Regions from separate parts of the Homo sapiens genome. Here regions 2, 3, 4, 5 and 6 are each linked to region 1. Evidence: promoter capture Hi-C in 16 types of primary human blood cells and fetal thymus (Javierre and others, 2016). All regions are on one chromosome and are shown on one strand. Each heading gives the region's core, a stretch centred on a gene start or on the middle of the fragment in contact. The rest is flanking DNA. Distances are from core to core; before and after follow the strand shown.

Region 1 (3,146 bases), core at 178-2,677:
CTCAAGCCAACACTTAGGCTCCAGGAATGCAACCTCTTCCCTGAACAAATGGGGAAACTGAGGTCCTATGGGTGGAGAGTCAACACTTCTATGAATATGGCCTGAGCTAGCTTCTGCACTATGCCATTGTCTCATGATGAACTTGGAGGCAGCTCTGACTCCCGAGTCTTCTGCCTTAGCTTGAGGATGGGGTACATCCCCAGCACTCACCACAGGGCTTGGCACACACCAAGTGCTCAGTAGAGAGTGCCCGAAAGAATGACTAAATACAAAAGGGAACCAAGGGTTGACGCTGGGCTGAGGCTGGGGTTGGGGTGTAGCACCAGGCGAGGGTTAAGTCTGGAGGTTGAGGTTTGGATGTAGATCTAGATATTAATAATATTTGGAGTCAGGATGTGGGAGAAGAGCTGAGGTGGGACTGCAGGCAGGACAGAAGAGGAGGTTGGGGCTGGTGATAGAATAAGGTCTGGGGTCAGTACTGGGGAGTGTGGAAAGTCAGGAATAAGGCTGGTGTTGATATTAGGAAGGGCACCTTGGTGGGATGATGATTGGGGTGGAGTTGGGCTGCCTGTGAATGTTTGAAGATGGAAGTTGCTGTTAGGGGGAGGCTTGATATGTGATTTGGGGTTGGGATGAGGGTGGTGATGGAATGAAGTTTGGGGTGGGGATAGAGTGAGGATTGTTTTGGATTAGAGGAGGGGGAGGTCCGAGCATGGCTCTAAATAATGGTTGGGGTCAGGATGAGGAAATCGAGCTGAGATGGGGTTTCACGGGGTGGTTGATGCTGTGGGCATGAGGACGGTAAGGACTAGAGCTTGCTGCTGATGTTCAGGTGGACACTCGGGTGGGGGCTGAGGCTGGGGTGAAGGCGCTGAGACTGGAGTGGGGTTCAAGGTAGGGTGAGGGCCAGGGACGGTACCTGAGCCACCACATGTAGCTGTGCTCGTAGGGGAAGAAGCTGTGCGGGTCGTCGCAGCAGTACTTGTGGTCGCGGAAGCCGCAGCAGAAGACAGCGGCCGCCTCGCCCCCCGGCCGCGGGCAGCTGAAGCCGCGCACCACCTCCTGCTCTGCGCTCACGTAGCTCGTGCAGGCGCCGCTCATCGCGCCCCGCGCCCAGCCCGCCGCCACCTCGGGCCACCAGACGGCCGGCTAGAGCCCGGCGGGGAAGCGAGGGACCGAGCGAGACGGAGCTGAGCCTGAGAACGGCAGAGACGAAGAGACCCAGGGGCCGAGAGAAGCCGAGACAGAGACAGCAGCGCGGGGCCCCGAGGACCGAGCGGCGGCCAGGTGCCCGGCCCGCGCGGAGGGGTAGGGGCAGGCGGGGCGGGCGGCGGGGGCCGGCGGCGGGAGTGACGGCTGCTGGAACGCGGCAGGAGCCGGAGCGGACGCGGGGAGCTGGGCCGGGAGCCGCGTGCTCGCCTGGCTCTGCCTGCGCTTCCTGCCCCCTCCCCACTGCGCTCCCCCTGCCTGCACGAGGGCGCTGGGTGCGCAACGACAGCACGACGCGGCCAGAGTGGCGGGGCGGGAATTCGAGGCCAGGGCGCGGGCGCCTTACCTGCACCGAGCCGGCGCCGGGAGTCTCGGGGCATTCGGGGCTGGGGCAGACAGACAAGGCACCAGCCGGCGACCACACGGCGGGGTCAGTGAGGAGAGTGAACACAACCTCACCCAACCTCCGCAAAAACCCAGGGGCCCGGGGATGTTCGCATCCGTGTTAAAGGTGAGAGCTGAGGGCCAGAGAGAAGCCATTTCCCGGAGTTCCTAAGCCCACGAGATTTTAACCGGGGGCGGCCTAGTAGGAAGTCCTTGCTCTTTCTGCGGCTTTCATGGTGCCTCTTTTCTAGCGGGCTTTTAGATGTCCTCATCATCTGGAGTCCCTGCTAGTCTCGCTGAGAGCTAGCTCGTGCACGGACAATGTCCACACTCTTCTGTTCATACTGCCTGCCACTGGCCTGGGACAAGGAGCCGAATATGGGTGTGGATGGGCCCAGACGGTAACCTCCTTCCCCACACTGACCAGCAAAGAAAGTCAGCAGACCTGTCCATTTTGAAAAATTACTTCCAGAGAACAAGGGCAGTGTTCTCACTAGCATCAGAGAACCACAGTCTGAAGGGGCTCTCAGTGCCTTGGCTTCCCCCATGTACCCTGTTGCCTTACGCCATCTGGAAGGGCTTCATACAGCACCTTCAGTGCCTTAGCTCTACATTTTTCACAGCAGTGGGTAGGGTAGGAAATAGTTACTGTGGTGCCTCGGGCACCCCCGATTCCTTCGCCCTTGGTTTGGACGTGTGGGGAACGGGCCGTGGGTATCAGGGGATCTGGGCTCCAGCCCAGCTCTACCCCTTCCCTGCTGTTTCTCTCTGAGCTTTGGGTTCCTTGTCCTCACCCAGGCCAGCTCCTCAGATGCTGATTGTGCCGCTGCCCTGACCTGGGTGGGCCCTAGGGCCCCTGAGAGGGATCAGATCTGGGCCTGCCGTTGAGAAACACACAGTCTGATGGAGGAGTCAGACTGACTGACGATCACAGCACAGGGCAGTAAAAAGGGAAATGCAAGGACCTGGACACAGAGGGGCACCATCTGAGGAAGCAGGGGAGGGCTCTGAGGGAGGCGGTGTCCTCAAGAGTCACTGTAAGGTCAAATATGAAAGCTGGAGGGAACTGTTATTATCCTCCAGAACATTCCTCCCCTGAGCTGTGGGTCTGAGCAGACTGGGAGCTGGAGAGCCTACACTAATGAGGGTGCACTTCAGCCTCTTTATCAGATGGAGAGTACAGGGGAGGAATCCTCTGGGAGGGAGAGGCTTCCTGGAGGCCTGGAGATCAGCTGGGAGGAAGAAAGCGCTCTGCCCTGGCTTTTGGCAAAACTAGAAAGCCTCCAACAATTTCCAAAACCCTCTCCCAGCCAAGAATTAATTTGTTCCTCCCAACAGCCCTCTGGGGTGAGCCACGCAGGGGTGAATGTGCCTGAAATAACAAGTCCAATACCACACAGCGATCAATGGCCCAGGCAGGGCTGATACCCATGTCTGTCTCCATGTCCCCCTTGGCAGTCTGATGAAGCCTATGAACCCCTATTCAGAATAGTGGGTTTTTTTTTGTTTTTGTTTTTTGTGTTTTGTTTTGAGATGGAGTCTCACTTTGTCAT
Region 2 (3,146 bases), core at 420-2,919, 230 kb after region 1:
GAGCACAGAAATGTGGGAGTGGGGCACAGCTCCACAAGGAGGATTAGGAAGATAGCAATTTGAAACTATCTAAAACTGCCTCGTTCAAGAGACAGAAGAAGGGCATGGTCATTAGGTAATCCTGTGGTAGTCTGTATGCCCAAGAGAAGGAACTGATAGACTGAGTGGATAAAGATGTTTTATATTACTATAGTCCCCCTTATCCGTGGTTTCACCTTCTGCGATTTCAGTTACCTGACAACAACCATAGTCCAAAAATATTAAATGGAAAATTACAGAAAAAAACAAGTCATAAGCTTTAAATTGTGTGCCATTGTGAGTAATGTGGTGAAATCTCACGCTGTCCCACCTGAAATGTGAGTCATCCCTTTGTCCAGTGTATCCGTGCTGTACAGTATGTGTGTGTAGGAAAAATCATAGCATATACAGGGTTAGTGGCAGCATCTGCAGGTTCAAGCATCTACTGGTCTTGGCGCGTACCCTCAGCAGATAAGGGGAGAGTACTGCACATAGATAAGGAGGATTTTGGACATACTTTCTCTTTGACATACTTAGAAGTATGGAGAAAAACCTCATCAAACTAATGTCCAGTAGAGGCAGCACATCAGAATCATGGGCTTCGGTGTATAGATTCTAGAATCCTCTCTTGGTGCTCCATTGGATGACTTTAGTCTTTCTCTGAAGAAAGCTAAGCAGGGAAGAGAGGATGATGATGAGGCACTAATGAGTGTTCTTTCGGTTGGAGCTATTGCTGGTACGGAGTGATACTAATCGTATGCTGTAATAATAAAGCTGAAGATTGCAAGCATTTGCCAGAAGTCATCTCAGTGGTTGATGCTGTAATTCTTGTGTGTGTGTGTGTGTGTGTGTGTGTGTGACAGTGACAGAATCTTGCTGTGTCACCCAGACTGGAGTGCAGTGGCACAATCTCAGCTCATGCAGCCTCAACCTCCTGGGTTCAAGCAGTTCTCCTGCCTCAGCCTCCCAAGTAGCTGGGATGACAGGCACCTGCCACCATGCCCAGCTAATTTTCTTTTTCTTTCTTTTTTTTTTTTTTTTTTTTGAGACAGAGTCTCGCTGTGTCGCCCAGTCTGGAGTGCAGTGGCGCCATCTCGGCTCACTGCAAGCTCTGCCTCCCGGGTTCAAGCCATTCTCTTGCCTCAGCCTCCCGAGTAGCTGAGACTACAGGCACCCGCCACCATGCCCAGCTAATTTTTTGTATTTTTAGTAGAGACGGGGTTTCACCGTGTTAGCCAGGATGGTCTTGAGCTCCTGACCTCATGATCCGCCCGCCTCAGCCTCCCAAAGTGCTGGGATTACAGGCGTGAGCCGCCGCACCTGGACAATTTTTTGTATTTTTAGCAGAGATGAGGTCTCACCATGTTGGGCAGGCTGGTCTCCAACTCCTGACCTCAAGTGATCCGCCTGCCTTGGCCTCCCAGAGTACTGTGATTACAGACGTGAGCCACTGCACCCAGCCTGATGCTATAATTCTTGCTAGGATTTTTGTTTTGCTGCTGTTTGATGCTGTCTTTATAGTCACTGATTTTTATTTGTTCGTTGCCTGTGTTTAGAGTAGCTCCTCTCAGAGGCCTTTTTGTCATTCCTTTGCCGGCTGATAGCACCATTAGGAAATGGAGCAATCCCAGAAGAGCGGGTGTGTGGGCTGGAATTAGATTGCTGCAGTTGGTCATGTGACCTTTGACAAACTCTTTAAGGTCCCCCGTCACTTGATTTCTTTGCCTGAAAAGGGGGATAGCTGTAGTACCTACCTTGTAGGGTTATTAGAAGGATTAAGGATCGGCCAGGTGTGGTGGCTCATGCCTGTAATCCCAGCACTTTGGTAGGCCGAGGCAGGCGGATCACGAGGTCAGGAGATTGAGACCGTCCTGGCTAACACGGTGAAACCCCGTCTCTACTAAAAATACAAAAAAATAATTAGCTGGGCGTGATGGCGGGCGCCTGTAATCCCAGCTAATTGGGAGGCTGAGGCAGGAGAATGGTGTGAACCTGGGAGGCGGAGCTTGCAGTGAGCCAAGATCAAACCACTGCACTCCAGTCCAGGTGACAGAGTGAGACTCCGTCTCAAAAAAATAAAATAAAATAAAAGATAACACATGTTGGGCCAGGCATGGTGGCTCATGCCTGTAATCCCAGCACTTTGAGAGGCCAAGGCGGGCGGATCACTTGAGGTCAAGAGTTTGAGACCAGCCTGGCCAACATGGTGAAACCCTATCTCTACTAAAAATATAAAAATTAGCCAGGCGTGGTGGCACAGGCCTGTGGTCCCAGCTACTCGGGAGGTTGAGCCAGGAGAATCTCCTGAACCAGGGAGGCAGAGGTTGCAGTGAGCCGAGATCACGCCACTGCACTCCAGCCTGGGGGACAGAGCAAGACTCCGTCACAAAAAAAAAAAAAATTTTGGCGGGAGGTGGTGGCTCATGCCTGTAATTCCAGCACTTTGGGAGGCCAAGGTAGGCAGATCACGTGAGGTCACGAGTTTGAGACCAGCCTGGCCAACGTGGTGAGACCTCGTTTCTACTGAAAATACAAAAATTAGCCAGGTAGGATGGCAGGTGCCTGTAATCTCAGCTACTCAGGAGGCTGAGGCAGCAGAATCACTTTAACCCAGGAGGCAGAGGTTGCAGTGAGCCAAGATGGGGCCACTGCACTCCAGCCTGGGTGACAGAGACTCTGTCTCAAAAAACAAAAAACAAAACCACACATGTCAAGGGTTAAGCACAGTGTCTGGCACATAGGAATTGCTCAGTAAAGTGTCCTTGAGTTGTCTTAACCTTTCCCTTTCCACCAAATTCTTTCTAGACTCTGATCCTCCTCCTAAGAAACGTGCTCGAGTACAGTGGTTTGTCCGATTCTGTGAAGTCCCTGCCTGTAAACGGCATTTGTTGGGCCGGAAGCCTGGTGCACAGGAAATATTCTGGTATGATTACCCGGCCTGTGACAGCAACATTAATGCGGAGACCATCATTGGCCTTGTTCGGGTAGGTGATGCCACCATCCTTGGTTCTACCTTGAAGCTTATTTCTGTCTGCCTCCTGAACTTCATGACCCCAGAAATATTACCGGCTCTAATACCCCATAGGGAATGCATTATTTCCTGTCATCTTCTGTGCTTGCCTGTCTGT
Region 3 (3,146 bases), core at 399-2,898, 210 kb after region 1:
GCCCCAACCCCTCAGCCTTTCTTCCTTAAGGAAGGCAGTATAAAATACCACTTGGCAAAACCTATTAACTGGCAACCTAGTAACCAACAGCCTAGGTTTTACTTATATGATAGTGTTATAGATACTAGTTTTCAGCATCTCATTTGCCCCTCCTTCAGTAACTGCCAGTGTTCAATAATTGGCAAAACTGTTCTGTTGAAAAACATATAGTTTAAAATTGATATAGTAGAAACTCAGATTTTAAGTCTGCAAAGTAGATTATGAGTTCAGATTCATTGTAGAGCAGTTAAGTAGAAAATTATCAATCTTATACAGGGAGAACACACACATTTAAGACCAAATTGTTTTGAAATGTTCTGTTTAATGACATGGAGATTAGTATTTTCCCTTGACATTAGGGTTATTAAAAATATAAATATGTACTGTATATTTGTTTATATCCCCTACAGATGGACATTTTTGCTGTTTCCAGTTATTCTTATATATACATATTATATATGTAATGTGTAAAATGATGATGGGATAAAGCTATTTGTGTGTACATGTAATTATTCTATTAGGGTAAATTCCCCTAAATGGGATTACTGGGTAAAAGGATCAAAAGTCCTAAGGTTCCTGCTACATATTGCCAAATTGCCCTTCATAAAAGTGGTTATCAATCTGTAGTTCCAGCAAACAATACGTAAAATGTGTTGGTATGCTTATAAAAAAGCTTTTAACTCCCAACAACTCATTTCTTCCTTGTAGAAATTAACATGTTTATTGTAAAAAGAAAATAAGCATTATATAAAAGTACAAAGTTTAAAAATCATTCAAAAGTTCATCAGCCAGAAAGAAGTACTATCTGGTGAACTTCATTCATTCCAACCATCTCTCTTAATCATACAGGCACATATATACAAATAGTTTTACAAAAGTGGGCTCATATGCTATATTTAACAAATATAGCAAATTAACAAAAGGAAAACAAGTGTGAAACTGAAAAAATGCTCAATTTAAATACTTTTTTCCCCACAAGAGAATCTAGTCTTGTAAGATTTCTCCTAAAATTAAGGACAATTACGGAAAACAATAAAGAGGCTATTTTTTTTTCTAGCTTCATGTATGTTTTAATTAGAGACTGTACGTGATTCCTGCTATGAAAGATGAAACCAGCACACTCTACTTGTTATTTCTATATAGACAGTGTTCATAATATTTGACTTTATAATCATTGCCCATTATTTTTAAAGTTTCTGAAGTGTTTACTAACACTCCTTTTACTGATTCTTTGTTCCTAAGTCCTTAATTTGATTCATTTCTTCTTTAGTTGAATTTCATTATTGGGCGGTTTTTTCCCAAAGACTCATGATTTGTACTTTTAAGTTCTTACAAACTTGAGAACATCTATAGCCTTTGTATTTTAAGACAACTTTGGCAAAGTATAAAATTCCTGGCACTTTTTCTCAAACCTTTGGAGCCTTTTGCTTCATTGCCTTCTTGTTATAAGATCTGAGACCATCCTGACCCCATTTAATTCTTTTTTCTTTTTGAGACGGAGTCTCACTCTGTTGCCCAGGCTGGAGTGCAATGGCGCGATCTCGGCTCACTGAAAGCTCCGCCTCCCGGATTCACGCCATTCTCCTGCCTCAGCCTCCCTAGTAGCTCTACCCGCCAGCACACCCAGCTAATTTTTTGTATTTTTAGTAGAGACGGGTTTCACTGTGTTAGCCTGGATGGTCTCGATCTCCTGACCTCATGATCCGTCTGCCTCGGCCTCCCAAAGTGCTGGGATTACAGGCGTGAGCCACCGCACCCGGCCAATTCTTTTTAAACCATCAGAATATTTCTTTATTCTACATATTTCTCTTTTCCATTTTTTATTTCCTCCAGCCTATTTTCTCTGTGCTGTTTTATGTTTTGTGGTTTCTAGTATAAGGCCTTTAAACTCCACCAATCTTATTTTTCATCTCTTAATCTCTTTTGAACTTTTTTTTTTTAAAGAGATCATGTCTGCTGTCTTTTTTGAGCAGGTGGAGAATTTCTGTCACATTAACCTTTTTGAGGGAGTGGGCAATCTGTGATCGTTCTTTTCTAAATAATGCTTATTTAAACTTCGGTCTACTGAAGAATAACAAACAGGAAGAGGTTAGAGGAATGAGCTTGAAGTTGGGTTGTTAATATTGGAACCCTCTCACCAAACCCATTCTTCTTCTTCTTTTTTTTTTTTTTTTGAGATGGAGTTTCGCTCTTTTTGCCCAGGCTGAAGTGCAGTGGCACGATCTCAGCTCACCGCATCCTCTGCCTCCCAGGTTCAAGCGATTCTCCTGCCTCAGCCTCCCAAGTAACTGGGATTACAGGCATGCGCCACCATGCCCGGCTAATTTTGTATTTTTTAGTAGAGACAGGGTTTCTCCATGTTGGCCAGGCTGGTCTCAAACTCCCGACCTCAGGTGATCTGCCCGCCTCGGCCTCCCAAAGTGCTGGGATTACAGGCGTGAGCCACCGCACCTGGCCAAAAATGCATTATTTCTTTTGCCCCTTGGAACACATCTCCCTTACTTTCTTAGTATTAAAAGGCGATTGTGCCCTATGGCAAAGCTTTTAAGTCAGTGTATTTCAAATTATTGGAAGTGAAATCGATTAAGTGGTTTCATCCAATATTAAAAACTGTTAACAAGTAGGAAACACCAGAATTCACTTTGCATAGTAAGTATTCTTTCCTGAAATTTGTCTCAGTACAGAATACAGATGTGTACAGAGGTAAGATGTAAAATACGTTTTTAAAATGTATGCTGTAGTCAAAAAGTTTAAAATGCTTCATCCATAGGCAAGCACATAGATGACAGAAAGAGCCTTACAGCAAGGTTTGTCCTCAAGCTCCATCTCCTGTGTAATTTTATCAAAACGATATCTACAGACATGCAACATGTCTTACTCTTACCTCCTTCTTCTAATTAAAGAATAGGGACATTCTCTTTCCTGCTATTGATTGGCTGTGGTACCTCAATTTTGGTCCACATATTACCATATGTCTAAACAAGTATGTTTTAATGTTTGTTTAGGGAGGTTTATTTCTGTTACTAAAATTTATTGGGCTTTGTGCGTGGGTTTATTTTTACTTTAAAACATATTTTAAGACAAAGTTTTATTTTAAGAGTGTACTG
Region 4 (3,146 bases), core at 342-2,841, 190 kb after region 1:
AGCTACTTGGGAGGCTGAGGCACAAGAATGGCTTGAACTGGCGAGGTGGAGGTTGCAGTGAGCTGAGATTGTGCCACTGCACTCCAGCCTGGGTGACAGAGCGAGACTCTGTCTAAACAGAAAAATGCAATGTAAATATAACAGTACATATTAGAATATCACAATAAGATAAGAATTTTGGAAATGTTTAGGGTCATTCTTTACATAAATATGATTGACTTATTTGGTGATCCTTATAATATGATTGACTTGTTTAGAGGGAGGACTGAGTGCTAAGTTGAAGATGATTCGTGTTGAATGAGAGAGAACAGAGAGACAGCAGGGAGAGAGAGTGTGTGTGTGTGTGTCTGTGTGTGTGTGTGTGTAAAAGTGTATAGCATTAGTGCTTCTGGGGGCTGAAACAGAGTGGAGAGAATTAAACACAGTGAAACATGAGAATTCAAAAGAATAGGCAAAATGAGTGATGATTAACGTTACAAGGCCCACAGACCTACTCCACTGTGTTATCAGCCAACGTAGTTGGGCTGGATCATGGATATTACTGAGAAGTATGAAATCTCTTAAAAACAATCATGATCTAAAGAGTTGGATTGTTGTTACTCAGAAGTATGAATTATCTCAAAACAGGGTTCTAAAGAGGTAGTTTATTTCAATATCTAGCAAATAAATCTGTGTTTACAAAACATGAAATACCTATAATAGCGTCTGAATCTTTAAGGATAAAATATTACATGTCAGCCCCTTAATATCTTCACTTCTTTCTTGAGGTCAGAAATCCTATGTCTTTTGTTTCAGATATTAATAGCTGCAATTGCCTCTTTTTTTTTTTTTTTTTTTTTTTTTGAGACAGAATCTCGCTTAGTCACCCAGTCTGGAGTGTAGTGGCACAATCTCAGCTCATTGCAACCTCAATCTCCTGAGTTCAAGCGATTCTCCTGCCTCCGCCTCCCAAGTAGCTGGGACTACCAGCACGAACCACCACGCCCAGCCAATTTTTTGTATTTTTATTAGAGACGGGGTTTTGCCATGTTGGCCAGGCTGGTCTTGAACTCCTGACCTCAGGTGATCCGCCTGCCTCGGCCTCCCAAAGTGCTGGGATTACAGGCATGAGCCACTGCGCCCGGCCTCAGTCTTTCACTTTTGTTTTATGAAATGTCGGAATATGTGCTAGATGACTTTTAGTAAACTGTATCTGTTTAAGTAATATGTAAATGTTAAAAAGCAACTTATTAGCCCTAGTCCCTGGAAGCTTGATTTCTGTGTAACATACTTACATATTAAATATAGTCATTCAACAAACATATATTAAGTGTTCTCTATGTGGCTTTGGTCTAGTAGGGTTCTGGGTTTCAGAGATAAGCCATAGTCCTTACCCACAAAGAACTTAAATCTGAGGATAAAATTGGAGGGGCCAGACATGTAGTTAATTTTATAAATCACTGTCACATCAAAAATGGAAATGGCCATTGGGCCCAGGCCCACCTTAACTAGTGGATTTAAATGGTATTGTGGTTTAACTGTATTCTGGGACCCATTAGTCACGGTAGAGGGTAAAGAGAAGGTGGTGTGGTATGTTTTCTCCATTTATAAACTACTGACTGACTAATTTATATAGTCTTTCCTCATTTTCACTGGGAAAAGTGAGCACTTAGGGAGATGATTGTCTTGCCCAGAACCACTATTCCTCAGGATAGAGGCTAGAAATTAGGTCTCCTGACTGAATCTGTTGCACCTTCCTACTTTATTGCATCTCTTAAGCCTCCTTTAGAATAAAAGTATCAATTACTTGTGGAAGTCAGTTACACAGACATCTTACGGGATACTTTTCTTGTAAAAATAGCGTTTTTTTCTCCTTTTTTCTTCTCCTTAGGACAGCGGATTATTATTCATAATAAAGTTTATAGTCTTTATCAAAATGTAAGGGAAAGCTTCCTAATTTTCCTTTTTTTTTTTTGTTTTTTTGTTTTTTTGTTTTTTTTTGGTGAGATGGAGTCTCGCCCTGTCGCCCAGGCTGGAGTGCAGTGGCACGATCTCGGCTGACTGCAACCTCTGCTTTCCAGGTTCAAGCATTTCTCCTGCCTCAGCCTCCCGAGTAGATGGGATTACAGGTGCACGCCACCACGCCCAGCTAATTTTTTGTATCTTTAGTAGACACTGGGTTTCACCATGTTGGCCAGGCTGGTCTCAAACTCCTGACCTCATGATCCACCATTCTCGGCCTCCCAAAGTGCTGGGATTACAGGCGTGAACCACCGTGCCTGGCCCTAATTTTCCATTTTTACAAAATGATAGTCCAATTGCTTTTTAGCCTTATCTGATATAGATAAATGATTAAAGGTACTAGGTCCCAAAACAGTTCTGTTGCCTTCCTTTGGGTGCACAATCAGTGGGTATTATCTATTTTGTATTTTTATATCTGTGATCCTTTGATGAAACTGCTGTTTCATCATGACTGCTGTTTCTTTTTTAAGTTTTGCTTCATTATTCTTGGACTGGATATGTTTTGATAGGTCAAGTAGATAACATCAAATGTATCATTTGGAGTTTAATGCTCTTAAAAGACATCCTTTTCCAGCTTTGGTCTTTCAGATACGTTTTATTCATTAACTTCTTGGCATCAAATTATACCATCATCCTGACATGTTCTTTTTGGAAGAAGTATTTTAGTATGTCTTATAGGTAAATTCTAAAATGGTATTAGAGTATTTGGACCTTTGGGTTGGATCACTTGAAATCTAATAATACAATTAATTTTTTTATGCAGATCTTTGATGGAAAACAGATTCCACAGAGAATGGTTGATGGATGGAATGCTTTCTTCTTTGATAAAACAGAAGAACTGGTAATTTTAAAATAGTCTTTATGTTCTAGAATGCTCACTGATATATGTTAGCATCTGTATAATTTAATAATTTTACTTAAATTTGCTGTCCATGTTTTGGATAGTACTGTATAGACATTGTTCTTTTCTTTTTTTTTTTATATGTAGAAAAAGCGTTTACCTTCACTTGGAAAGAACACAGAATCATTAGGGGAGCTTTGGCTGGGACTGCTTCGTTTCTATACTGAAGAGTTTGATTTCAAGGAATATGTAATTAGCATTCGGCAGAAAAAGCTGTTGACAACTTTTGAGAAGCAGTGGACTT
Region 5 (3,146 bases), core at 322-2,821, 170 kb after region 1:
TTGTTCTGAACAACACAACAGGGAGCAAATTTTAATTGGCTTGGAAAAGTTTATTCAAAAAGAATATGATGGTATGTCATAGGTTAAAAAATTTATTGCGTTTTTGCTGTAGTCATGTAGTCTTGAGTTTCATTTATTTAAAAATATTTATTGAATGCTATGTGTTAAGTACTGTTCTAGTTGCTGGGAATACAGTGCTAATAAAAGAGATGAAACCTCATGAAGCTTATGTTTCAAATGGGGAGACAAATAGTTGACTAATAAATATATAATATTATATCAGCAAATAATACATGCTGTTAAAAGTATAGGAGATAAAAGAACTGAAGTGATGGAGTGTTATGATAGGCCTCTCTCATAAGGTAGCATTTGAGGAGAATCCTGAATAACATGAAGGAGCAAGTTATATAAATATCCAAGGAGAAAACATTGTTGATGGAACAAGAATAGATTATGTTTGGCATATTTGAGGAATAGCCAGGAAGTCAGTGTGGCTGGAGTGGAGTATTAGAGGTAGATTGTAATGTATAGAAGAGGTCAGAGAGGGGGTCTAGGGATTAAGTCATTAGTGCCTTATGGATGTTGGTAGAAAGCCTTTGAATTTTATTTTGAGTACCTAATGAGAATCTTTTAGAGGATTTTTAGTTAATAAATGACATGATCTGAGTGAATGGTTTGCTGGGCTATAAGACTGGAAGCAAGCAGAACATTTAGGAGGCTGTTGTGTGAGTCCAGAGTAGATGAGAAGTGGTCAGATTTGGGATATATTTTGAAGGTAGAACCAATAGGATTTGCTGATGGAAAATGTGAGGCATGAGAGAAAGAAAGAAATCAAGGATGGTTTCAAGGTTTTTGCTATAACAGTTACAGTAGGTGGTCCTATATAACTGAGATGGCAAAGAGCAGGAAGAGTAAGTTTTGGGCATGGGGATGAAGAATCAAGATTTTTGTGACTAAATATTTTAGAAAAGGATAAAAGTTGACTTTAATCAGAATGAATTTGTACTTTTACAAGATGACCCATTATGTGCTACATATTACAATTAAAAGTATTTGAAAACAAATATTTTTTAAATTAAAAAATCATATCATCATTATTGTTTTTTAGAGACAGGTTCTCACTCTGTTGCCCAGACTGGAGTGCAGTGGCATGATCATAGCTCACTGCAGCCTCAAACTTCCGGGCTCAAGCAATCCTCCTGCCTTAGCCTCCCAAGTCGTTAGGACTACAGGTGTGTGCCACCATGCTTAGCTAATTTATTTTTTATTAAGAAATATTTTTTTTGGCCAGGTGCGGTGGCTTACACCTATAATCCCAGCACTTTGGGAGGCTGAGGAAGGTGGATCACCTGAGGTCAGGAGTTCGAGACGAGTCTGGCCAATATGGCAAAACCCGTCTCTACTAAAAGTACAAGAATTTGCTGGGTGTGGTGGCACACGCCTGTAGTCCCAGCTACTCAGGCTGAGGCAGGAGAATCACTTGAACCTGGGAGGCAGAGGTTGCAGTGAGCCAAGGTCATGCCTTTGCACTCCAGCCTGGGCGACAAGAGCGAAACTCTGTCTCAAAAATATATATATATATATATATATATTTTTTTTTTTTTTTGAAATAGGATATTACTCTGTCACCCGGGCTCAACTGCAGTGGTGCAATCATGTGATCAGGGTTCACTTCAGCCTTGACCTCTGAGGCTCAAGCGATCCTCCTACCTTAGTCTCCTGAGTAGCTGGGACCACAGGTGCGCGCCACCACACCCAGCACATTATTTTTTGTAGAGATGGAGTCTCACCATGTTTTCCAAGCAGGTCTCAAACTCCTGAACTCAAGTGATCCACCCACCTCAGCTTCCCAGAATTCTAGGATTACAGGCATGAGCCACCGCACCTCGCCTTCTTTTTTATCTTAAAAAATTTTTGTAAAGACAAAGTCTCACCATGTTGCCCAGCCTGGTCTCAAACGATCCTCCCACATTGGTTGGCTTCCTGAAGCGCTGGGATTATAGGAGTATATAAAGTATTGACCAAATCTAAGTCTCTATTATATAAAATCATGCTCAGTTTTATTTGCTGATGAGTATAGCTTCTTTTTTGCCTCTCAGCTATCATTGAAATTTCAAGTAGAGCATCAGAACTGGATGGGGGTATGAAGTTTTGAAAGTATAAAGTGTCCTATAAATGTGTAGTCTACTTTAGAATTAATAGGAAGAGCCAGGCCCAGTGGCACACACCTGTTATCTCAGCCACTTGGGAGGTTGAGGTGGGAGTATTGCTTGAGGCAAGGAGTTCAAGACTGTAGTGTATAATGATTGTGCCTGTGAATAGCCAGTGCACTCTAGCCTGGGCAATATAGCAAGACCCTGTCTCTAAAAAAAAAAAAGTAATAGGAAGAAAAATCCAATTCTGTTAAACCACAGCTTATTTGAAATGGTAGCTGTTATTGGATGACACTGAGTCTGAAGGGTTAACCCTATCATAATTTATATCAAGTGGACTATAATCACTCATTTTTGGAAGAGCATCGTATACTAAGGTGATATTTGTAAACCTACATGAATTGTGCTTTGAAAGAACTAATTTATTTTTAAGAGGGCAGTCCTCAAATATTGATCTTAACTATTGGTAGTGATGTTGAGAATGTATAAAAGCAGATGGATTTATTATGTAAGTCGGAAAAAGCTAAAAGTCTCAATGATTGTTTGGATGTGGACATTGAGAGACAGATATTAAGGATTGCACCTGTATTTCTGATGTGGGCATCTGTGTACATGATGGTACTATTTGCTAAGAACAGGGATAATAGAAATAGTAATAGATTTGGGGCAAAGTTGATAGTTCAGACGTGTTGAATGTATGATGTCTGTGGAAAATTGGAAAAAGCAGTTGGGTACATGGGTATGGGAACTTGGGCAAAAGCTTGGGCTCAAGATGTTTTGGAATTTCTCAGTATTTCTTCCAGTGGTAGGTAATTTAAATCATAGAAATGGACAAGAGCATGTTGTATTAGGTCATCAGCAGATAGCAGAAGACTCCTCCTCTCTGCTTATAATAAGGCCTTGGACTTTGTTTTCCTTTGCTTAGAAAAGGCAAGGTTGTGCTTATTTGGCTCTTCTAAGAATGGATTTGGATTTCGTGATAGTGATCTGGAT
Region 6 (3,146 bases), core at 209-2,708, 150 kb after region 1:
GACATTGAAGAGATCAGTGCCCTGTCTCTCATGTATATCAGTTTTGATAATTCATAATGCTGCTTTTGAAATTAATTTCTCATTAACTTAAATACTAAGTTTGGTTGAAATTTATTTCTGAAGTACAAATGAATGTTAAAAACATCTTTCTTTAATTCGTATGGAACTCTAGTTATGGAATGACATGTAGTTTTCAGTTAGCTCTAAATTTATTAAAACATTTGTTTTTATTAGGGCTTTTACGGTACTATGTTACAATATGATAACTAGAAAGAAAATAGCCACAGGATTTGAAGTATTCTGCTTTTAAGGGTATTAATACAATGAAATTTGTTTCTTTCTCATTCACAGTGGTTTACTTTGTAGAGTGAGTGCAGGAAACGATATGGCATGTCTCACTACTGATTTACTTACTGCCCTTGGCAAAATAGAACCTGTCTTTATTCCCTTGGTGTTAGCCTTTCGCTACTGGGCTAAGGTAAGTGAAAGAGAGGAAAACTACTTATTTATATTTTTAGAAGGAAATGTATTTAATCTTCAAAATTAGGCCTTTTCTTGTACTGACATGTAACATCAATCATAACATGTGGGAGAAAGTAGTTTTCTGTGCTAGACAGAAAGTTGGTGTGGCAGGTTGTAATTTATGGACATAAAAATAAATTTTTGTAGACACACTTATGGATATATTTTAGAATTTTTAATTGTCATGCTATATTCTCCTTTTATGTACTATAGAAATGTTCTCTTTCATATCAGCATATGAGGCTCAAGTTTTCACTCTTACTGTAAGTTAAACTTGTAAGGTTTTAAGATGTATATACATTAAGATTCTTTTGTTGGCATATTTTTTTCCCCAGTCTCTAAGAATGCTATTCTCTTTCCTCTAAATCATTGATAACATGTACCAATTTCTGATTGGGCAACTGCTGAGCATTAGTTATTTAAGTTTCCTAAATTAGTCTTAATTTGTATGTCTAAAGGCTGTGGTTGCCCTGTGTTTATTTCTTTGATGTGGGGATAGGGAGTAGTAGTTAATTATCAATATCAGTCCAAATGACTAGAGAGAGAGATTTTAGCCTTTTGTTTGTGTATTCCTGCCCTATCGGTAGAGTATTCATCACTTGTTAGACTGGTGAGTAAATTCTCAGTCATATACAAAGAAAACTGGTTAAGGGGATGGTGTTAGAGTGGTAACTTCATAGCAAAAATAGAGAAGTCTCTGGAATTTTTTGTCTGGGCTCTGTTTAGAGAATTGCCCCCATGCTTGGAGCAGCACCAGCTGGCTGAGTACGAAACAGTCAGAAAGCCTAAGGTTGGGGCTTCTTTATACTCAAGGCCTTTGTATTTGCTGTTTCCTTCATCTAGAATGTTCTTACCTTAGGTATTTAGAATGCTTCACTCTTACTTTTTTCAGGTTTATGCTCACATTGATTACCAGCTGCCATACATAAATTTGTTGCAGTCTGTACTGTGAAATTGTAAACTCTTTGAGGGCAGGGATTTTAATGTTTTATGTATTCACGGCTGATCCCCACTTCCGCTTATTTTACTGTGTCAGCACATAGTAGGCACTCAGTAAATATTTGTTGAATAAATGACCTAGTTTCTTCAGAAAGGAGTTGTGTTTTTTTTTGTTTGTTTGTTTAAGTAGAGATGGGGTCTCATGATGTTGCCCATGCTGGCCTTGAACTTCTGGGCTCAAGCAGTCCTCCCACCTTGCCCTCCCAGGTGCTGGAATTATGGGTGTGAGGCACTGTGCCTGGGCCAGAAAGATTTTTAACCCATGGAAGAGAGTGGAGGCAGTAAAATAGGTTGAGGGAGGGTGACTACTTCCTCTCATTTATCTTATACTCTATGCCTAGCATACTATAGGAAATCAGTGTATGGAATGGAGTAAACCAATTCCAGGTATGGTTTTTTTTACTAAGTTTTTTTTTGTTTTTTGAGATGAGGTCTCTGTCACCTAGTGCTGGAGTGAGCGATCACGGCTAACAGTAGCCTCGACCTCCCAGGCTCAAGCGATCCTCCTGCCGCGGGCTTCCAGAGTACCTGGGACCACAGGCGTGTACCAACGTGCCTGGCTAATTTTTTATTTTTTATTTTTGTAGAGATGGGTTCTCATTTTGTTGCCCAGGCTGGTCTTCAACTACAGGGCTCAAATGATCCTCCCACCCTAGCCTCCCAAAGTGCTGGGATTACAGGTGTGAGCCACAGCACCCAGCTTTGCTAAGTCTTCAAGCAAGGTACTTCACCTATCTGAGCTTCAATTTTTTTCACCTGGAGAGAATATTTTGGTAATGCTATTAGATAATTCATGAGAATATACTTCAGGCTCGAAAATACTACAGAAATATAAAGGATGATGGAATACACAGTTGCTTCTTTGTTGGTACTTTTAAATTATGCCCTAATTTTTTTTGTGGTCATAAAGTCATGTCAGTTTTCTCCCAGACATTGTTCTACTCAGTAAAATAAGTAGTCTGTGTTAGAAGATTATAAATGATACTCAGATACATTCTTTTTATTTTGGAAAAAAATATGGCCCATAAATATTGTTTCCTAAAGTGACTCTTGGAAAAGGTTGCTCATGGTGTTTTAGTAGTTGATCCATGTAGATTCTAAATATGCCAGTCAATGGACACTGAAACATATATTACAAAACTGGTTGTAGAATGGTTTCTTTCTGTTTCCAACAGAATAACATGTCTCGTTTTTGTCATTTGTGTTAGTTGCAAAGAAAGTTTTTTCATGGTATTCATTTTCTTAAGAAACTTAGAAATAATTCCTAGTTTATTTTTCTTCTAAAAGATTTTTTTAAAATAGCTTTGTTTTTCTTGAAGTTTTAAGCCATATTGTACATTATCTAGTTAAGCACGCATTTTTCCATGATTTGGGGGTTCAGGACAATTCTAGTATATAATTTACTCTTATAACTGTGATATGAGATTGCAGTTGATTATTCTCTGGCTGTCTTAAGTAGTTATAGTCTTTGCATTTTAGTAATGGGAAATAGTTTTCTAGATAAAGCTTCTTAACTCTAGGTGGCAGAACTCTTTAGCCTTATCATCAGTACATTATTAGTCAAGTTACCTGACTTAGAGCCACTTGTCGTGGTTAATGTAAGAATTGCATTTTAGCACTATTTG

What was found. The method cuts DNA at HindIII sites, captures the fragments that hold promoters and counts their contacts. A CHiCAGO score of 5 or more calls a contact.
Region 2: a contact is called between a fragment that was not itself captured here and the fragment with the promoter of SHISAL2A in region 1, in 1 of 17 cell types (naive CD8 T cells). The highest score is 5.4, in naive CD8 T cells.
Region 3: a contact is called between a fragment that was not itself captured here and the fragment with the promoter of SHISAL2A in region 1, in 1 of 17 cell types (naive CD4 T cells). The highest score is 6.3, in naive CD4 T cells.
Region 4: a fragment that was not itself captured here is called in contact with the fragment with the promoter of SHISAL2A in region 1 in 5 of 17 cell types (total CD4 T cells, naive B cells, naive CD8 T cells and 2 more); the score reaches 7.3 in total CD4 T cells.
Region 5: a contact is called between a fragment that was not itself captured here and the fragment with the promoter of SHISAL2A in region 1, in 1 of 17 cell types (total B cells). The highest score is 5.1, in total B cells.
Region 6: a fragment that was not itself captured here is called in contact with the fragment with the promoter of SHISAL2A in region 1 in 2 of 17 cell types (naive B cells and total CD8 T cells); the score reaches 5.5 in naive B cells.

What each region holds. Positions count from the first base shown.
Region 1 is chr1:52,631,449-52,634,594 of GRCh38, reverse strand. It overlaps SHISAL2A (shisa like 2A), which reads right to left and starts at 1,427. Exons shown (of 3, transcript NM_001042693.3): 1 at 920-1,427. The coding sequence starts at 1,101. LOC124904178 (a long non-coding RNA gene) reads left to right here and starts at 1,140. Exons shown (of 2, transcript XR_007066084.1): 1 at 1,140-1,287. RefSeq lists silencers at 1,100-1,149, 1,160-1,349, 1,440-1,549. The HindIII fragment of the contact is 18,193 bases long and covers 1-3,146 here.
Region 2 is chr1:52,397,541-52,400,686 of GRCh38, reverse strand. It overlaps ORC1 (origin recognition complex subunit 1), which reads left to right. Exons shown (of 17, transcript NM_004153.4): 4 at 2,824-3,002. Among named protein-coding and RNA genes, the nearest start is that of ORC1, 5.3 kb to the left of the region's middle. The HindIII fragment of the contact is 2,742 bases long and covers 299-3,040 here.
Region 3 is chr1:52,418,424-52,421,569 of GRCh38, reverse strand. It overlaps PRPF38A (pre-mRNA processing factor 38A), which reads right to left. Exons shown (of 10, transcript NM_032864.4): 10 at 734-3,146. Among named protein-coding and RNA genes, the nearest start is that of PRPF38A, 15 kb to the right of the region's middle. The HindIII fragment of the contact is 1,868 bases long and covers 715-2,582 here.
Region 4 is chr1:52,446,286-52,449,431 of GRCh38, reverse strand. TUT4 (terminal uridylyl transferase 4) reads left to right here. Exons shown (of 30, transcript NM_001009881.3): 21 at 2,765-2,842; 22 at 2,990-3,146. Among named protein-coding and RNA genes, the nearest start is that of PRPF38A, 43 kb to the right of the region's middle. The HindIII fragment of the contact is 679 bases long and covers 1,252-1,930 here.
Region 5 is chr1:52,465,106-52,468,251 of GRCh38, reverse strand. TUT4 (terminal uridylyl transferase 4) reads left to right here. Exons shown (of 30, transcript NM_001009881.3): 15 at 1-71; 16 at 3,079-3,146. Among named protein-coding and RNA genes, the nearest start is that of PRPF38A, 62 kb to the right of the region's middle. The HindIII fragment of the contact is 2,688 bases long and covers 228-2,915 here.
Region 6 is chr1:52,486,241-52,489,386 of GRCh38, reverse strand. It overlaps TUT4 (terminal uridylyl transferase 4), which reads left to right. Exons shown (of 30, transcript NM_001009881.3): 9 at 352-478. Among named protein-coding and RNA genes, the nearest start is that of TUT4, 65 kb to the left of the region's middle. The HindIII fragment of the contact is 3,142 bases long and covers 1-3,029 here.